Regions from separate parts of the Homo sapiens genome. Here region 2 is linked to region 1. The links are contacts of gene promoters, found by promoter capture Hi-C in blood cells and fetal thymus (Javierre and others, 2016). All regions are on one chromosome and are shown on one strand. Each heading gives the region's core, a stretch centred on a gene start or on the middle of the fragment in contact. The rest is flanking DNA. Distances are from core to core; before and after follow the strand shown. Region 1 has its middle 17 kb from the start of MMP12. Region 2 holds the start of MMP27 (matrix metallopeptidase 27).

What was found. The method cuts DNA at HindIII sites, captures the fragments that hold promoters and counts their contacts. A CHiCAGO score of 5 or more calls a contact.
Region 2: a contact is called between the fragment with the promoter of MMP27 here and a fragment that was not itself captured in region 1, in 1 of 17 cell types (M1 macrophages). The highest score is 5.8, in M1 macrophages.

What each region holds. Positions count from the first base shown.
Region 1 is chr11:102,889,809-102,894,345 of GRCh38, reverse strand. No RefSeq gene overlaps it. Among named protein-coding and RNA genes, the nearest start is that of MMP12, 17 kb to the right of the region's middle. The HindIII fragment of the contact is 179 bases long and covers 2,555-2,733 here.
Region 2 is chr11:102,703,576-102,708,411 of GRCh38, reverse strand. MMP27 (matrix metallopeptidase 27) reads left to right here and starts at 2,643. Exons shown (of 10, transcript NM_022122.3): 1 at 2,643-2,799; 2 at 3,637-3,875. The coding sequence starts at 2,698. The HindIII fragment of the contact is 3,149 bases long and covers 1-2,843 here.

The DNA of each region.
Region 1 (4,537 bases), core at 1,395-3,894:
AGCATCACAGTTTGGAAAATAGGCTATATGGTCTTTGTTGCAACTACTCAACTCTGCCACTGGGGGCTGGGTGTGATGGCTCACACCTGTAATCCCAGTGCTTTGGGAGGCCGAGGCGAGAGGATCACTTGAGATCAGGAGTTCAAGACCAGCCTCGCCAACATAGTGAAACCCCCACTCTACTAAAAAAAAATACACAGATTAGCCAGGTGTGGTGGCGTGCACCTGTAGTCCCAGCTACTCAGGAGGCTGAGGCAGGAGAATCTCTTGAACTTGGAGGTGGAGGCTGCAGTGACCAAGATCATGCCACTGCACTCCAGCTGAGGCAACAGAGTATATTAGTCAATTTTCCCACTGCTGATAAAGACGTGGACTTATAGTTCCACTTGGCTGGGGAGACCTCATAAATATGGTGGAAGGTGAAAGGCACGTCTCATATGGCAGCAGACAAAAGAAGAAGAACTTGTGCAGGGAAACTCCCCTTTTTAAAACCATCAGATCTTGTGAGACACATTCACTATCAGGAGACCAGTGCAGGAAAGACTCACCCCCATAATTCAATCACCTCCCACCGGGTTCCTCCCATGACACATAGGAATTGTTAGAGTTACAATTCAAGATGAGATTTGGGTGGGGACACAGCTAAACCATATCACACAGTGAGACTCTGTCTCAAAAAAAGAAAAAAAATCAACTCTGCCTTTGGAGAAAGAAAGCAGCCATAGATGATATATAATTGAATGCATATGACTGTGTTTCAATAAAATTTTATTTGTAGATACTGATATTTGAATTTCATATAGTTTTCATGTGTCTCTGTGTATTACTTTTATTTCATTTTTCAACCATTTAAAAATGGAACCTGGGTCAGTGACATGTGCTGTCATCCCAGTACTCAAGAAACTGAGGCATGAAGATCACTTGAGCCCAATAGTTTGAGACCAGCTTAGGCAATATGGTGAGACCTTGTCTTAAAAAAAAAAAAACCAACAACAATAAAATAAAATAAAAGTGGAAGGAAGGGCCATTTTTAGCTTGCAGGCTGGATTTGGTCTGTGGCCCATAACTTGTCAAGCCATGTCCTTCTATGGGGTTTACAGTTCATATAATTCTTTACTAAGTCATTTGCAGTCTAAATTGTTATTTTTTATATCTAGGTCTTGTGTCTTTAATTGGGTTGTGAGTTTTCTGAGGGAAGGCACCTCATACTTGTTTGTAAATGCTCTAAAGACCAAGTTCATTGGTGAAAAGCAAGTGTGATAAATGTTGATTAGAAGAATCAGTTTTGCCCACGATGATCTTGGTCACAGGGAGCTGTAGATGGTTGGAGGAGATTGGTGCTTCTAGTATGTGGAAGATCTAGGCAGAAACAGTGGGAACAGAAGACTCAGGAAAATCCTTGAAAGACAGCCAGAAAATAGAGTTGGATTCAATATTGAACTTTAAGATAGAGAGAAACTAGGAAGTAGATGTCTCTTTTTCATCCAAGCCATGAAATCAAAGTGAAGTCAGGCAGTAAAAACCAAACTCCTGGGCAGCTGCGTTTCTGCAATGCTCTAGTATATCTTTCTGGATCAAAATATTCACAAGGGAATTACTGAGCATTTCTACAACTGGTCCTTTGGCTAAAGTGCATCTTCCTACCTTTGACCTCGTGCTCCAATCGACTTTTCAAAACGCAATTTGGGATTCATCATTTCCAAAAAGCCTTTCCCACTTTCCACTTCATCCCCATCCCAACACGGATACAAACACACACACACACATACTGCCTTGAGCAGGCCTCCTCTAGTGCAGGGATAGTTACTCTCTTTCTGTTTACTGTGCCTCAGACAGTGGCTGGTGCCCTGCAGGTAATCAATGAGTTTTTTTTGTTGGTGTTTTTTTTTTTTTTTTTTTTTTTTGAGGTGGTGTCTCACTCTATTACCCAGGCTGGAGTGCAGTGGCATAATCTCAGCTCACTACAACCTCCACCTCCTGGGCTCAAGTGATTCCCCCACCTCAGCCTCCTGAGTAGCTGGGACTACAGGAACATGCCACCACACTCAGCTTTTTGTAGAGATGGGGTTTCACTATGTTGTTAAGGGTGGTCTCAAACTCCTGGGCTCAAGTGATCCACCAGCCTCGGCCTCCCAAAGTGTTAGGATTACAGGTGTGAACCACCTGGCCCTTTTTTTTAAATGCAGTTTTAAAATAGAACTTCTTCAAATCCAGCCATTCAGAGAAGCACCTAGTTTTTACTATATTTTTATCTTTGTTGCCTAGGAGCAGGGAAAGAGGGAAAAAGGGAAAAAAAACTAAAGGCAGGCTGTAGCGCAAATCCTCTGTAGATCCTTCCTTTAAATGCTAGAGCAGTGGTCCCCAAACTGCCATTGCTGGACTCCACCTCTAGAGTTTCTGATTCAAGAAGTCTGGGAAAGAAACCAACATTTTGCATTCCTAACAAATTCCTAGGAAAGGCTGATGCTGCTGGTCTGGGACCACACTTTGAGAAACAGTGCTCTAGAACCTGAGCTCTACTACTGCCCTATACCATGAAGAAGTTTGGGAAGCTTGTCTTCTGACTTGGTGGCTTCCATTCCTATCATGTACATTTCCTCTCCAACCTCAGATTTCTGATGTTTCCTCTCAGCCCCACATTATCATTGTTCTCTAGCTAGGTTGCTTTCAAACACCAAAAAGAAAAAGCACATGAGAAGGTTTCATATTGAAGTAAAAATAAATGGTAAAGCTTTCTTTTACATCAAAAAATCAACCTTTAAAAGGGAGTACAGGCCAGGCATAGTAACTTGCACCTGTAATCCCAAATCCCTTTGGGAGCCTAAGACTGGAGGATCGCTTGAGCCCAGAAGTTTGAGATCAGCCTGGGCAATATAGTGAGACTCCACTTCTATAAAAAATAAAATGTAAAACTATAATTTTTTTAAAAACAGGGAGTACACTTGTGTAAGCTAATAAAATGGAACTCCAGGAAGAGAGCTTCAGAGTTTATCTAGGTGAAAAAGAAGCTTTGCCCACAGGAAATTACACAATCCAACCCACATCCACCACTTGGGGATACATCCATCTCAGGGCAGGTATTAAGGTATTAAAACCCTGCCTGGATCATAATTTTAAGTCACTATCATTTGAAACAGCACATCTTGAGTTTTGCTTTTTGTAGGTGTGTGGTGATAGCTGGGACCACAGGCAGATATAAAGCAAAGTCACAATTCCTAGGAGCATGAAAAGCAGGGAGATGGGACTGTGGCTGGGAGATGGGACTGTGGCTGGGAGTATCTGAGAGGTGGAGGGAGGTTAAGATCTGGAGAGATCAAGGGGTACAGAGGAAGAAAAATTCTTTGTCAGGAAGAAGTAACTACAGCAGCAAAGTCAGAGGGATAGGAATAGAAGGCTGGCAGTGTTGGTTGCAGGGAACTGTGGGAGAAGAGGCAAGAAAAGGAGGAAGGGGGCAGATGGTAAGGACTTTGACAAGTGAAGAAATTTGACCTTGATAAATTGGGTTCTGACTGTATCTTACACAGTCTCCGCAAGGTGACCAGAATGACGTTTCTAAACGCAAATATGACCATGCCTTGCCTCTACTTAAATTCTTCAGTGGTTCCCAGTGCTGTCAAGACTGAATTGGAACTCCTTAGCAGAATCTGGGCTCCTGCATTCCTCTGCAGTTCCCACTCCAGAAACATCCTTGACCCATATCTCTCTCTCTCTCACACACACACAAACACCTCTGCGCTTCAGTTGTGTCACCCTAATCCTCCTGGGCGTTGCACACTCTCTCACTTCTGTGGGCTTCAACTTCCTCACCCTCTGCCTTCCCTCACACTCTCACCTGATTTAAGATTCTCTTTGATTTATTCTAGGATTCAGAAGAAGGGTGTAGCCGGGTGTGGTGGGGCTCGTCTGTGGTCCCAGCTACTCAAGAGGCTGAGGTGGGAGGATTACATGAGCCCAGAAGGTTGAGGCTGCATGAGCTATGGTCACACCACTGCACTCCAGCCTAGGCAACACAGTGAGCCCTGTCTCCAAAAAGAAAAAAAAAAGAAAAGGGTGTGTTCCCCACCTGTGTCCCTTCTGGGATCCATAACTCTGCATGGTCATTCATGTAAAGCCCCTTGTGCAGCAAACAGAGGATACATCTTTATCAGTTGATTGTCATTATCTGTTTCATTCTCTGTCTCCCCTCTTACACTGTGAGCGCCCTGAAAACAAGAATTGCATCCCTAGCACCTAAAACAATGCCTGACACACAGGCGGGAAATATTTGTGGAATTAACTTTGAAACAATGATATTATTTTTTAAAAAAATGTATTGGAATTTTGAAATAAAAATTAATCTATAAATTCAGAAAATACAGAAAAATACAAAGGAGCAAGTAAAAATCCCTTGTAATTGCTCTGCTCTGAGATAACCCCTTTCAGTTTATTTTGAGAATATTTGAGAATTTTTGAGAAAAGGAACACTATGTAAAAAATGGAACATAGGAAAAAAATTCTGACAACTGTGTGTCTCACAGAGAATGGAATTAAAAGACTA
Region 2 (4,836 bases), core at 1,394-3,893, 190 kb after region 1:
ATCAAGAGCATAACTATAAAATTTATAAATATCTAGGTAAAGAGAAGATTTCCAAAACCTTTCAAAAGAAAAACATCAAGAATCAGAGTATAAAACTTTTCAACAGCAGCACTAGAGTCTGGAAAATAATGGAATCTTCATTATCCTTCAAAGTTCTCAGGCAAATTTATTTTAGACTGAAATTCTGTATCCAGTCATACACCAATCAAGTGTGAGGATGAAATAAAGGGCATTCTTAGGTATGAAAAAAATCAGAATATTTATTTTCCTTATATTCTTTCTTAGAAAACTCCTGAGAGACATGTTGCATCAAAACAAGGGAGTAAATCAAGACATAGGTAGAAGTGAAACCCAGTAGCCAGAGATCTAACACAGAGACACAATACAAGTTTTCTGGTTAATGAGAGGATGACAGTTCTACAACAGACCCAGACTGGAGAAGGCAAGCAAGGGGTCTCAGAGGGATGAGTTCAAGGGAAAAAAACTGCTGCTATATTTCCTGTCATGTTTGGTTATTCTGAGAGAGTTTAAGAGTTCTATGGAAGAATTTGGTAAAGAATTAGCATATAAAAATCAATTCAACTATCAACTGCGGAGAAAAAAGGCTATACAAGAAAGGAGATGTAAGGCCAGGCATGGTGGCTCACACCTGTAATCCCAGCACTTTGGGAGGCTGAGGGGGGTGGATCACCTGAGGTCAGGAGTTCAAGACCAGCCTGGTCAACATGGTGAAACCCCATCTCTACTAAAAATACAAAAATTAGCCAGGCATGGTGGTGCATGCCTGTAGTCTCAGCTACATGGGAGGCTGAGGCAGGAGAATTGCTTGAACCCGGGAGGCAAATGTCGCAGTGAGCCGAGATTGTGCCAATGCACTCCAGCCTGGGTGACAGAGCGAGAGTCCGTCTCAAAAAAAAAGGGAAAAAAAAGAAAAGGATATGTAATCATAGTATACTACGTGATTCTCTTGTGAATAATATTTTCATGGTCATAATTGTATGAACGCTGATTACGGGCTTAAACATTCCTATAACCAAATTAGGAAAGCAGAAGGAGTGTTAAGTCCTTCTTTTCCATAGGAAGATGTTAATAATAACATTTAACTTTGAAAACTCGAGAAATAGTAGCATAAGCACGTTATTTACAAATGTGGAGTTAAACATAAAGATAAAAAGCTATAAAAATAATTTAAAGAAGTTACCTTTGGGGAGCAGGACTTGAAGGAGCGAAAGGTTAGGGCAGAGAGATGCTTTTTCGTTACAACAAGATAGCACCATTTGACTTCCCTTTTTCTGGTAACTCTATTTTTTTTTAAATTTTGTTCTGAAATATTTTAGAGTTTAAAAAACACAAAAGAACAATACAATGAGCATACTTGTACTTAGCATACTTGTACTTAATACCATTATAACACAAATCCTGATCATGTCTGCCTTCTCCCCTTCATCCCATTGCTCCAGAGGCCAATTAAACAATTTAAACTATATACATATATTAAAACAGTAAATAATAATATTTCTGAAACAAGATTTATAACTGGGATGAGCTTTAAATGCAAAGGAAGTATGTATCTACTTAGATCCTATAAGTTCCTCAGCTATGCCATATAAATTTTGTTTAGGATATGGACAAGGAAGATTTAGAAAGGTGTATCGATTGAGGAGTTAACATTTGGGAAGAAAGGGAAGAAAATTTTAATAATTGGTAGAAGAAAAGGGGAGGACAAGTGAGGGAGGACATTGCTGTAACTAAGACTGTTCCTTCATCTAAAAGTAGCCCAAGTAAAGAAGAATATATTGAAATTAATCCAAAAGGCTCTCACTAACTATATTCTCACTTCTGATGTTAATTTTGGCCTTCATCATCCATGACCTCTATGACTCTTCATCTTCCCAGTCAGCTGTCTTGTCCATGAGACCCTCCATCCCATCTTCCATAGCTGTCTACATATGTATTTTGTTCCAGTCAGGCCAGATTTCCTGCAGCTTATTTCTGCTGTGTTACCTCCTTCCCATGGCCTCTTTGCACTCATACTTCTTCTTCCTTCCTCTGTAAATCCAAATTCTACACATTCTCCAAAACCCAGAGCAAGCCCTAGTGCAAGCCCCAGTGCAGGCTGTATTTAACTTGCATAAAACCTCAAGGCCACACTCATAAGCAATGATCTGCCTTTGGCCCTTCTTAGTCTTTACAATCTGCACTGTGTATTTGCCCACTTGCCTCCTTTTTGTCCTACATTAATTTCTGTATGTGTCTGAATTCTCCAACAAGATTGCATTCACAGGGGCAGGCAAACAGTAGGAATTCAATAAACATTTGAAGTTTATCTTAGTTAATAAGGGTAATCTGACTCCTGATTCATTTGTCTTTTTATGATAACATCCTACCAAGATATTCTGAGATTGCCTTCAAAAGAAAACTTTGCAAGGAAAAAAAAATAACTTGGAGGCTCACTTCCCAGTATATTCAATTCAGTAATAAGCACTAACTGTGTTTACTAAACAATTGCAGGCCAAGATTACAAAATCAGCTCAGTCAAAAAAAAAAAAAAAAAAAAGCAAATCATGACACACTTTATGGCAAGTGTCCCTTTCTGTTATTAATTAAATGATGATACAAGCCAATTCATGCCACGTCTCACTATTATTTTCTAAATTCTGTGCTAACAGAACCGGCTTCAGCTGAAGAAAGAGAGGAATGAAGCGCCTTCTGCTTCTGTTTTTGTTCTTTATAACATTTTCTTCTGCATTTCCCTTAGTCCGGATGACGGAAAATGAAGAAAATATGCAACTGGCTCAGGTACTGTCTTAATAAATGATATCGATGACTATTGATAAAAAGCTTATTTTATTGATTCTCTTGGGACCTAAAAAGAAAACACATTCCTGCAAAAGAGTCCTGAACTTTTTTGTGAGAAGGAACTGCTTTTCATTTGTCTATCTCTGACGATATCAGGAAATTGTGTTGGGGAGGAGGGCTGGCACAGGGAGGGGGAAAGGATCTGCTATAACTTTTAGCAATGGTCACAAATGAAGGGATGTTTAGTGCGAGGAGAAAGGAGAGAGCCCTGCAAGGTATGGAGATCACTATAAAAGCATTTCAAGACAACCAGGAGGACCCAATCTACAATTTGGAGCCCTAATCCCTATATGTATGAAAAAAAATACATTGCTTTACAGATTCCCTCTAAAAATCAGTTCAGTTAACTTTTTATTTTTGGTTAAAGCAAATACATGTGCAAAATGGATAATCACTTATTTATCCTAGAACTTGTTTCAAAGAAACACCAAAATGAAAGTAACAGCAAAAATATGTAAGATAGGTCATCATTCAACAGACAGACGAAGCTTCATTCTCTTCTGTGGAGGTTTAAGAGCTGCGTGCTTTGGCTAATTCTGGTCACTCATAAGTCAACCAAGTCTTGGAAATTGAAAGAGCAGGGTGACTCGTTATTTTCCTCTTTGTGTCCTTCCTTTCTTCTTTCCTCCTTCACTCCTCACTTTCTCTCATTACTTCTTTTTTTTCCCCTTTCCTATTGCCAGAAGGAATTTTAGGCAATTTTGCTTTATCCTGAGATGGAGATTTGCTCTCCTGTAGTCTGTGCCTCTTTTTTTTTTTTCTTATCTTTTTGGTCAGGCATATCTCAACCAGTTCTACTCTCTTGAAATAGAAGGGAATCATCTTGTTCAAAGCAAGAATAGGAGTCTCATAGATGACAAAATTCGGGAAATGCAAGCATTTTTTGGATTGACAGTGACTGGAAAACTGGACTCAAACACCCTTGAGATCATGAAGACACCCAGGTGTGGGGTGCCTGATGTGGGCCAGTATGGCTACACCCTCCCTGGGTGGAGAAAATACAACCTCACCTACAGGTAATGCTTCTGCCAGCTTATTTCCGCCTAATCCAAAGGAACATAAAGATAATTTCCAAGGAACAGAATAATATTCATTCAATTGACTGAGCACTTCCTGTGTGCACAGCACATCTTAGGCTCCATTTACGGTATCTTCCCAACAAACCTGTGCTGTAGGCTCTGCTGCTACCACCATCTTAAATACAGAGAAACTGAAACAAAAGTTTATTTACCGTGGCTGAGGTTACACAGCTCTTACTGGCTCCAGCAGACATGCTCTCATCTCTAGCCTCTGCCACCATCATATAAGCTCCCAACAAATACTGTCATCTGACTGCAGATACTTGACAGCATGAATGAAGGGTGCCCAAGAGAAAATGGGGAGACCCTGGAACACAACCAGTTTATGTCAGAGACATGTGTGTGTGAGAGAGAGAGTTGCCAAATCTCAGATGAGCCCCTCAGAGCAAAGTAGGGTGTTTCCCTCAGACATCTCAAGGAAAAGGGGGCAGGCTGACTCATTGGCAGGAAGAGGATGAGGTATGCCTTTGATCTGAGACAGAGACAGTCACCTTGACCATCACTCTACAGCCTTTCTGATAGTTCTTCTTTCATCTTACTGAGTGCTAGGACTTGAGATAAAAATGAATTTAGCAAGATAGGCAACATAAACGAGAAAAATCTTTTCCTGAGCAATTCTTGTGGTTCTCATGTAAGATTCTTAATATATGGACTGGGTGTGGTGGCTCATGCCTGTAATCCCAGCACTTTGGGAGGCTGAGGCAGACGGATCACCTGAGTTCAGGAGTTTGAGACCAGCCTGGCAAACGTGGCAAAACCCCATCTCTACTAAAAAACACAAAAATTAGCTGGGCCTGGTGGCACGCGCCTGTAGTCCCAGCTACTCAGGAGGCTGAGGCATGAGAATCACTTGAACCTGGGAGGCAGAGGTTGCAGTGAGCCGAGGTCGCGCCACTGC